Linked DNA regions of Homo sapiens: all the other regions are linked to region 2. The links are contacts of gene promoters, found by promoter capture Hi-C in blood cells and fetal thymus (Javierre and others, 2016). All regions are on one chromosome and are shown on one strand. Each heading gives the region's core, a stretch centred on a gene start or on the middle of the fragment in contact. The rest is flanking DNA. Distances are from core to core; before and after follow the strand shown.

The links. Contacts are between HindIII fragments. The CHiCAGO score rates a contact against its expected background, and 5 or more counts as called.
Region 1: the fragment with the promoter of CAMK2N2 here is called in contact with the fragment with the promoter of KLHL6-AS1 in region 2 in 3 of 17 cell types (erythroblasts, fetal thymus and neutrophils); the score reaches 6.3 in erythroblasts.
Region 3: the fragment with the promoter of EIF4G1 here is called in contact with the fragment with the promoter of KLHL6-AS1 in region 2 in 12 of 17 cell types (M0 macrophages, M2 macrophages, megakaryocytes and 9 more); the score reaches 11.0 in M0 macrophages.

The regions. Positions count from the first base shown.
Region 1 is chr3:184,260,192-184,262,891 of GRCh38, reverse strand. It overlaps CAMK2N2 (calcium/calmodulin dependent protein kinase II inhibitor 2), which reads left to right and starts at 1,339. Exons shown (of 2, transcript NM_033259.3): 1 at 1,339-1,775; 2 at 2,665-2,700. The coding sequence starts at 1,607. All of the region lies in intron 2 of EEF1AKMT4-ECE2 (EEF1AKMT4-ECE2 readthrough), which reads right to left. RefSeq lists enhancers at 1-247, 2,133-2,684, 2,685-2,700. The HindIII fragment of the contact is 12,942 bases long and covers 1-2,700 here.
Region 2 is chr3:183,547,394-183,550,093 of GRCh38, reverse strand. It overlaps KLHL6-AS1 (KLHL6 antisense RNA 1), which reads right to left and starts at 1,359. Exons shown (of 2, transcript NR_046687.1): 1 at 1,131-1,359. The region is part of intron 1 of KLHL6 (kelch like family member 6); the gene reads left to right. The HindIII fragment of the contact is 1,687 bases long and covers 1-1,686 here.
Region 3 is chr3:184,313,302-184,316,001 of GRCh38, reverse strand. EIF4G1 (eukaryotic translation initiation factor 4 gamma 1) reads right to left here and starts at 1,396. Exons shown (of 33, transcript NM_198241.3): 1 at 1,328-1,396; 2 at 457-513; 3 at 146-239. The coding sequence starts at 205. RefSeq lists enhancers at 127-748, 1,473-1,973 and silencers at 586-1,295, 1,316-1,645. The HindIII fragment of the contact is 4,143 bases long and covers 285-2,700 here.

The DNA.
Region 1 (2,700 bases), core at 90-2,589, 710 kb before region 2:
CACCAGCTGTGTGATTTGGTAATTTGGCCAGATTAAGGAAGGAAAGCGCGTTCGCCTGGAGTGTGGAATGAACGTACAGGGTGATCATTACCGTTTTCAGCGCTGCCGTCACTGTCGCCGCATGTGAGACACCCCCTCCTCCCCAAGGCCAGTGATTGCGCCAGAGCTCCTGCGCGCTGGCAAGCAGGTGACGCCGCGGGTGACGGCCAGCCAGGGCGGGGGTTGTGGGGGCGGGAGGCAAGGGGAGAAGAGGGCATGTTCCCATCGGTGAGGCGAGAACTCACCCGTGGTCCAAAGCAACGAGGGCGGGGGGCACCCTCCATCTCTACCGCACTCCCTCGGGGCACACACTGGCGCGCTCCGCGTCCTCAGGTGCTCCGAGCTTCCCCGCGTCACCCGCAGCCCAGGGCGCCCCCCGCGACGCCGCCATTCATTCCTCCTACACTGCGAGCGCACCACTCCAGAGCCGCGGGGGGCTACAGCCACCGGACTAGGGCTGGGGGTGTCTGCCCTGGTGCGCGCGCGTCGGCCCAGTTTCTATAGACCCCTCCTAGGAGAGACTGAAATACCCAGATTCAGGAGACGGAGACACTGGCACAGAGATACAGGAGTCAAGAATGGAGATAGATAGAGAAAGGCAGACACTTAAGGGACAGGCATAGACAAAGGCCATAACACAGCGAAAGAGATACGGGGCACAGAGACAGAGAGATACAGACACTTAGAGATGGACTGACACACACAAAGGCGGAGACAGAGACACAGACCGGCACTCAGAGGCGCACGGACCCTGACGATCTACTTAAGACCAGCAGAGCAACTAGTACAAGAGCGCGTCAGCGGCAAGGGCACCATCCCACTGGCCCGAGCTCTTCCCGCGCTGTGGGTTCGTGCCTTCCCCAGTCACCCTGTACCCGAGTCTCCTCCCCGCGCATTTCCCGCTCCCCGCTTTCCATTGCCAGCCCTGCGGCCGCCTTCCCGCCCCAACGCGCCCGGCCAGCTTTTGCCCTCCTGCTCCCAGTCCCCCTTGCACGCCTCTCCCAGCCTAGGGGTCAGACCCTCCTCCAAGCTCCTCCAGTACCAGGCTCGATCCCACCCCCCTTCGGTCCCGCCCCTCCCCGCGAGGTCCCGGCCGGGTTGGCTGGTACTATTCCCCAAGACCCACGTGCTGGCCATTCCCCGCCACAGTGCGGGAACCTCCCACTCCAGCTGCCTCTGTTCCCGGGGTAGCTGGGCGCGCTCCTGCCCCCGGCCCCGCCTCTTTCCCCTGGCCAGTGCCCGCCCCGCCTCCACCGCGCCCCGCCCGCCGTGCTCTGCCGCAGTCGGGCGCTCATCGTCATTCCGCTCTTGCCGCCGCCGCCGCCACCCCCGCCCCCCGCCCCCGCCCCCGCCCGGTCCCCGCCACCGCCGCCGCCGCCGCCTGCCCAGCGGCCCGGGAGGCGGAGGCGCGGGGGAGGAGGCCCCGCTTGGCTCCTCAGCCCCGGATGCTGCATGACTTCATCCTTCCGCCGGCTCCCCTGCTGAGGTAGGGCCGGTCCGGCAGCAAGCCCGCCGCCCGCGCCCCGCCGCAGTCCCGCTCCCGCCCCGCGCCCACCCCGCGCCCGCCATGTCCGAGATCCTGCCCTACAGCGAAGACAAGATGGGCCGCTTCGGCGCAGACCCCGAGGGCTCCGACCTCTCCTTCAGCTGCCGCCTGCAGGACACCAACTCCTTCTTCGCGGGCAACCAGGCCAAGCGACCCCCCAAGCTGGGCCAGATCGGCCGAGCCAAGCGAGGTACGCGGCCCGGGCCCGGAGTCGCCGCCTGACCCAGAAACCCTCCGCCGGGCGCCCCCCGGCTGCCGTTCCCCGCCGAGTGCCCGCAGCTCTTGCCGCAGACCAGCGCACCAGCCGCTCTCCAGCCCGGGCTGGAGGGGGGGGTCCCCGCTGCAGTGTGTGTCCCCCTCTTCCCTTCTCCCGGGAACACGGTGCCCCGGATTCGATGCTCGCCACCTCTGGAAGCAGAGCCCTGGCACCCGGGCGAGGGGGAGGGGCCGGTCGGGGCATTTGGGGCTGCACGGAAGTGGGAGCACGGGGTAACGGGCTGATTCTTTGGGATCAAATACTGAGTCGGTGGACAATACGAAGAACCTTCGGGTCGAGAGGGACGTCTAACAAGAGAGGGCAGGAGGCCGGGGGTCCGCTTGTCTTGGTTGTTTGCATGGGGAGGGGAGCTCTGTTGGTGCCAGGATCGGAAGAGGGGTTCCAGCGGCGAGAGGGCTCAGGTTGAGGAGAGGGCTGGACCAGCTGGATACTCGGTTTGAGCCCCATTTGAGCAGGGGGATCTGTTGAAGTGCGGGTTGAAGAGGGGGATTCCGTGAGCAAGAGGTTTCTGATCAACTCAGAGGGAGGAAGGCTCAGGTGGCAGGAGGGCTCGCACTGGGAGGGAGAATAGCTGGAGCCTTTGGAAGAGGGGCGTTCCGCCATCGGGAGGGGAGGGGGTCTAGGCTTGGCGGCGGGTTGGGTCTCCAGAAGAGTTCGGACGGGGAGGACACCGCGGCACAGGGTTCCGAGGGGCGTCGCTGGGCCACGGGCAGTAGCTGCGCGGGAAGCTAGGACGCGGGGCTCATTCTCATCGCCGCCGCCCCCCGAGGCCGCGCGGCTGACGCGCTTTCTCCCTGCGCAGTGGTGATCGAGGATGACCGGATAGACGACGTGCTGA
Region 2 (2,700 bases), core at 110-2,609:
CCTTTTTATAACATCCTGTTCTTGTTTTGTATAGGTCATATTTTCACTTAATCTCTTTGAGGTTTATATTTTTTAAAAAACCACTCTTCTGTTTTTGTTTGTTTTTTACTGTTTGTTTTCACTGTATTTTTCTCTTTGTTTTTGTCTCTTTTATTCTATTTTATGTATGTATTTATTTATTTCCTAGAGACAAGGTCTCCCTATGTTGCCCAGATAGTTTCAAACTCCTGGGCTCAAGGGATCCTCCTGACCCGGCCTCCCAAAGTGCTAGGATTACAAGCATGAGCCACCACACCTGGCCTCTGTCTTTTATTTTAGAGGCTATACTTAAATATCTGGTAGTCTTTGGATATCTGTTCCTATTTAAGAGTCAAGCACTAACATGGTGAAACCCCATCTCTACTAAAAATACAAAAAATTAGCTGGGCGTGGTGGCACATGCCTGTAGTCCCAGCTACTCGGGAGGCTGAAGCAGGAGAATTGCTTGAATCTGGGAGGCGGAGGTTGCAGTGAGCCAAGATCATGCCACTGCACTCCAGCCGGGGCAACAGAGCAAGACTCAGGTGTCCCGACCTGACGAGTGCCATTCAAGTTGGATTTAGCCATGAAATAAGTTACAAAAAACTTTACATTTATCAGCACTTTGGGAATTTTGAAACTACAGATAAGGGATTATAGATATATAATGCTGAAATATTTACTATCATATTGGTTCTGATCCACAATATTGGAAAATATTAAAAGTGGAAAATATAGGGCCTGACCCTGGTGTTACAATCATTGGCTTCACTTGAGTTCTCAAGTGTACCCACTGTGGCAGCAGCAATCCTCAACACATTTGCTGTTAGCCAGATTTTTAATACAGACCTACATGGCCTTAACTCATTCTTGTTTTTCTTGGCACTTATTCTCTTTTTTAAAATTTGTTTAAATTTTACTTTAAGTTCTGGGATACATGTGCAGAATGCGCGGGTTTGTTACATAGGTATACACGTGCCATGGTGGTTTGCTGCACCTATCAACCCATCATCTAGGTTTTAGGCCCTGAATGCATTAAGTATTTTTCCTAATGCTCTCCCTCCCCTTGTCCCCCACCCGCCGACAGGCCACGGGTTGTGTTGTTCCCCTACCTGTGTCCATGTGTTCTCATTGTTCAACTCCCACTTATGAGTGAGAACATGCGGTGTTTGGTTTTCTGTTGCTGTGTTAGTTTGCTGAGAATGATGGTTTCCAGCTTCATCCATGTCCCTGCAAAGGACATGAACTCATTCCTTTTTATGGCTGCACAGTATTCCATGGTGTATATGTTCTTGGCACTTATTCTATCACCTGGGCTTTCTGACTCTTTTCTGACATCTTACCCCATTATGGAGACAAAGCTCAGGATTACAACATCTACATGTGGCTTAAGAGTAGTCTCTTGCCCCACTTTTCTGCCATGCAGTAATTGGTTAATATGTAATAATGATTAACAAGTGCATAGATTGTGCTCACAATAACCTTCCCATTCCTGGCCTTATGCCTGATTTTTGTAGCTGGCGGGTAAAGTCCTCTCAACATAGCCTCAAGGAACCAGACCTAGAGACTGCGGTACAAGACAGGAGTGAGACAGGAATCCAGACAAGGATTCCAGGCAGCAGCATCAACAAAGGAGATTGCTAATGACTCAGCCTCAGCCTGGAAGCTTTTCTATGCATGAAGGAAGGGCCAGTCATGAGACAGGGCAGAGAAAAGCCTGATAACCCCTCCCCTCATCACTAGGACTCCCCTCCCTCTGCCAACCCTGGGAATCACAGCAGGGCTGCCCTCACAGGTCACTGTCACTTACAGAGTGTGCCATATTTTGCAGTGAGCTGGGCTTCCCAAATGGTGAGAACCAGTTTCTGGTTCTAGCCACAGTGAGGTCCCATATATTTTCAGAGCGCACTGTCTTTTCACCTTGCACACCCTGACCCTGCTTCCTTGTCTCTTTTTTAACCCTTTGATCCAGACTGATGTCCTAAGGCATGCTGGGTCCTTGCTGCTATGGGGGTCTGTCAGCTCAGCCCCCAGACATAAACTGGAATGAATGTTCCAACAGTATCCTGCCTGTGCATGTGTGTATGAGCACAAGGAGGCTCTGATTTTTACATTTCCTCCTCATTTTCAGCTTATGTAGCCTACACTAGCAAAAGAGTCTTGGGGAGCTGAGGGGTCATAGGAAATGACCTGTTAGCCACATTTCTGTTCTCTGTGAAGAGGCCTGTTTTCAGTTTAGACATCATGGGGAAACCACTCTTCCCATCAAAGTGAGCTCCCCCAAGGATGAAATGGACACCATGCTATCTACTTGATATTATGAAGACTGAATGAAATAAAAAGAATCCAGCAAAGTGCCTGAAAAAATGTAGGCCGTCCATATTCCAAACTGGGAAAAAATGCTTAATGCAAAGATTACCACGTCACGTATAAAAACAAAATACTGGAAGCAACCTAAATGTCCACAGTGAGAGAATGATTTTCATATTATGCCTCTGTTGAAATTGGTAGCAATATAATAAATAGTCATTATGAAAAGCATGGAGCACCGTAGGAAAAATATTATAATGAAAACAGGGGGCAAAGCAAGATGCAAAATTGCATGTAAACTATGGAAAGATATGCATGTGAGAAAAGGTAGACAAATAACACCAAAATGAAAACTGTTAACATTATCAGAAA
Region 3 (2,700 bases), core at 147-2,646, 770 kb before region 2:
CCCCGGGGACAGCCCAGGGGCCCTGTCTCAATTTGGCAGCAGGCGGCTGCACTTTGCCCTGACACAGATGGGGGTAGGAAGATCCAGAGGCTGGAGACTGCCTGGTCTCCCCCACCCCCACCCCTGCTAATTCCTCCCTAATTACCTGTGGGAGTCCGGGGGATGGGGCGGGTGGGGGGCCTGTGGACTGTGGAGCTTTGTTCATTTCATTTGGTGCCACATCAGGGTCCCCCCAGCACCTGTTGGGAAAGAGTGGCGCTCAGGAAGAGGAAGGGACCCAAGCTTAAGGCAAATGGGGCGGTGAAAGGGTTGATGCAAGGGCTGGGTCCCATACGGAGTCCCAGAGATGCCAAGAGGGTGAAGCAGAAAAGATACAGCCTGTCCCCACCAACATGCTGTCAAACCCGCATCACTTCCAACCAACCCCTGACCTACTGAAACAGACCCCTCACTCACCCCCTCGATTAAGAACAAGTCCACGGTGCGGCCTACAGGTTCTGGGCATCCGAGGGCCTGGGGTTGGGAGGTGAGGGTATCAACCTGGCTCCGCGGGGCCCCAGACCAACCAGACCGGAAATTCCAGGTCTCGCTGGCACCAGGCTCCCGGATCACGAACGGAGCTAGCTGCTTCGGCCGTGGCGTCCCCACCCCCCACCCGGGGACACCGGGTTCGGGCCTGGCCCAGGGGCACACAGGATACGCCTGCCGCCGGGGAACCCGCACTGGGCCAGAAGCTAGGCCTGCCGCCGCCCAGGAGTGTAGGCCAGGAAGGGCGGGAGTCAGGCCCTAAAAGGCCAGGCGGGCGGCGGCCGTCGAGGAGCCGGTTTCAGGCAAGTGAGGGTCGGCCCGGAGGGCGGGCGGGGCCGGGGGCTCCTCCCTGCCCGCCGCCACCGCCTCCCTCCCCTGCGCCCTCCCTGCGCAGCGCGGGCCAGTGCCAAAGAACAACGTGTCACTTCCCGGCGGCCTGGCCGCGAAGGGGGGAGGGGGCGGCGGGCCGGGAGCCGTGGTGCCTGCGCCCGTGGGCTGCCGGGCCTCCTCGGGTCAGGCCGAGGTGGCATTTCGCGGCGACGAACCCGGCGCCCTACCAGCCCGCGGGGCCCGCATAGTCCGGCCCTGCGCTCCCCACCCCCACCCAGCAGCCAGGCCCGGCCGGGCCAGGCACACGTGGGCCGGGGATCGGGACCCTGGCGGGCCGGGGCCCTGGGTCGGGCCGCGGGGCCAGGGCGCCGGGGCGGCGGCGCAGGGTGGCCGGTCCCGGCCCGGATGGCGGCGGATGCGGGGGGAGGGGGTGGGGGGGCCGGGTCGGGCCCGGACATGGCGGCTTTACCTTCAGTCTCCTTCAGTCCGCGCGGCCGAGCCCCACGCAGCCGCACAGACGTAGTCCACAACCATTTCCGGCTCCCCGCACAGATCCCGCTCGGCGGCCACCGCTTCTCCGCAGGCGCAGCCGGCGCCCCCACGTGACCGGCGCAGGGGGCGGAGCCGCGCCGGGCGATCTGCGCCGCCGAGCACATGGGATTTGCCCCCGCCCCGTCACGTGACAGCCACAGCCCGCCCCCGTGTCCCCTCCCGAACTTTGAAACTCCCAGACCGATTCCCCTCTGTGTTTCTCTCTGTTCCGCGATTCTTTAGTTCATTCATATTTTAAGCAACCATTTATTGAGTGCATGCTAAGTACAAGGCGAAGTGCTGGTTGAGGGCTGAGAAACTGAAATCAAAGTCTCGGCAAAAAAAAAAAAAAAATAAGCGGGGCGCGGTGGCTCACACCTTAATCCCAGTACTTTGGGAGGCCGAGGTGGGCGGATCACGAGGTCAAGAGATCGAGACCATCCTGGCCAACATGGTGAAACCCCGTCTTTACTAAAAATACAAAAATTAGCCGGGCGTGGTGGCGCACCCGTAGTCCCAGCTACTTGGGAGGCTGAGGCAGGAGAATTGTTTGAGCCCGGGAGGCAGAGGTTGCAGTGAGCGGAGATTGTGCCACTGCACTCTAGCCTAGCCTGGCGACAGGGCGAGACTCCATCTCAAAAAAAAAAAAGAAAGAAATTAAAGACTCCGTCCTGCCTAAGTAAATCGTGATACAATACGAATTATGCAGGCTTTGAAAATAATTTAGATTAGGTCATTGAAAGGCCAATAACAAAGGAAATTAAAAGGATAGAAACATTCTAATTAGGCAAGTAGTATGAGATTTGTAGTTTAAAAAGATCATGGGCCGGGCGCAGTGGCTCACGCCTGTAATCCCAGCACTTTGGGAGGCCGAGGCGGGCGGATCACGGGGTCAGGAGATCTAGACCATCCTGGCCAACATGGTGAAACCCCGTCTCTACTAAAATACAAAAAATTAGCTGGGCCTGGTGGCGCACGCCTGTAGTCCTAGCTACTCGGTAGGCAGAGGCAGAGAATTGCTTGAACCCGGGAGGCGGAGGTTGCAGTGAGCCGAAATTACGCCACTGCACTCTAGCCTGGCGACAGGGTGAGACTCCATCTCAAAAAAAAAAAAAAAGAAAGAAAAAAAGAAATTAAAGACTCAGTCCTGCCTAAGTAAATCGTGATACAACACGAATTATGCAGGCTTTGAAAAGAATTTAGATTAGGTCCTTGAAAGGCCTATAACAAAGGAAATTAAAAGGATAGAAACATTCTAACTAGGCAAGTAGTATGAGATTTGTCGTTTAAAAAGTTAGAAACATTCTAACT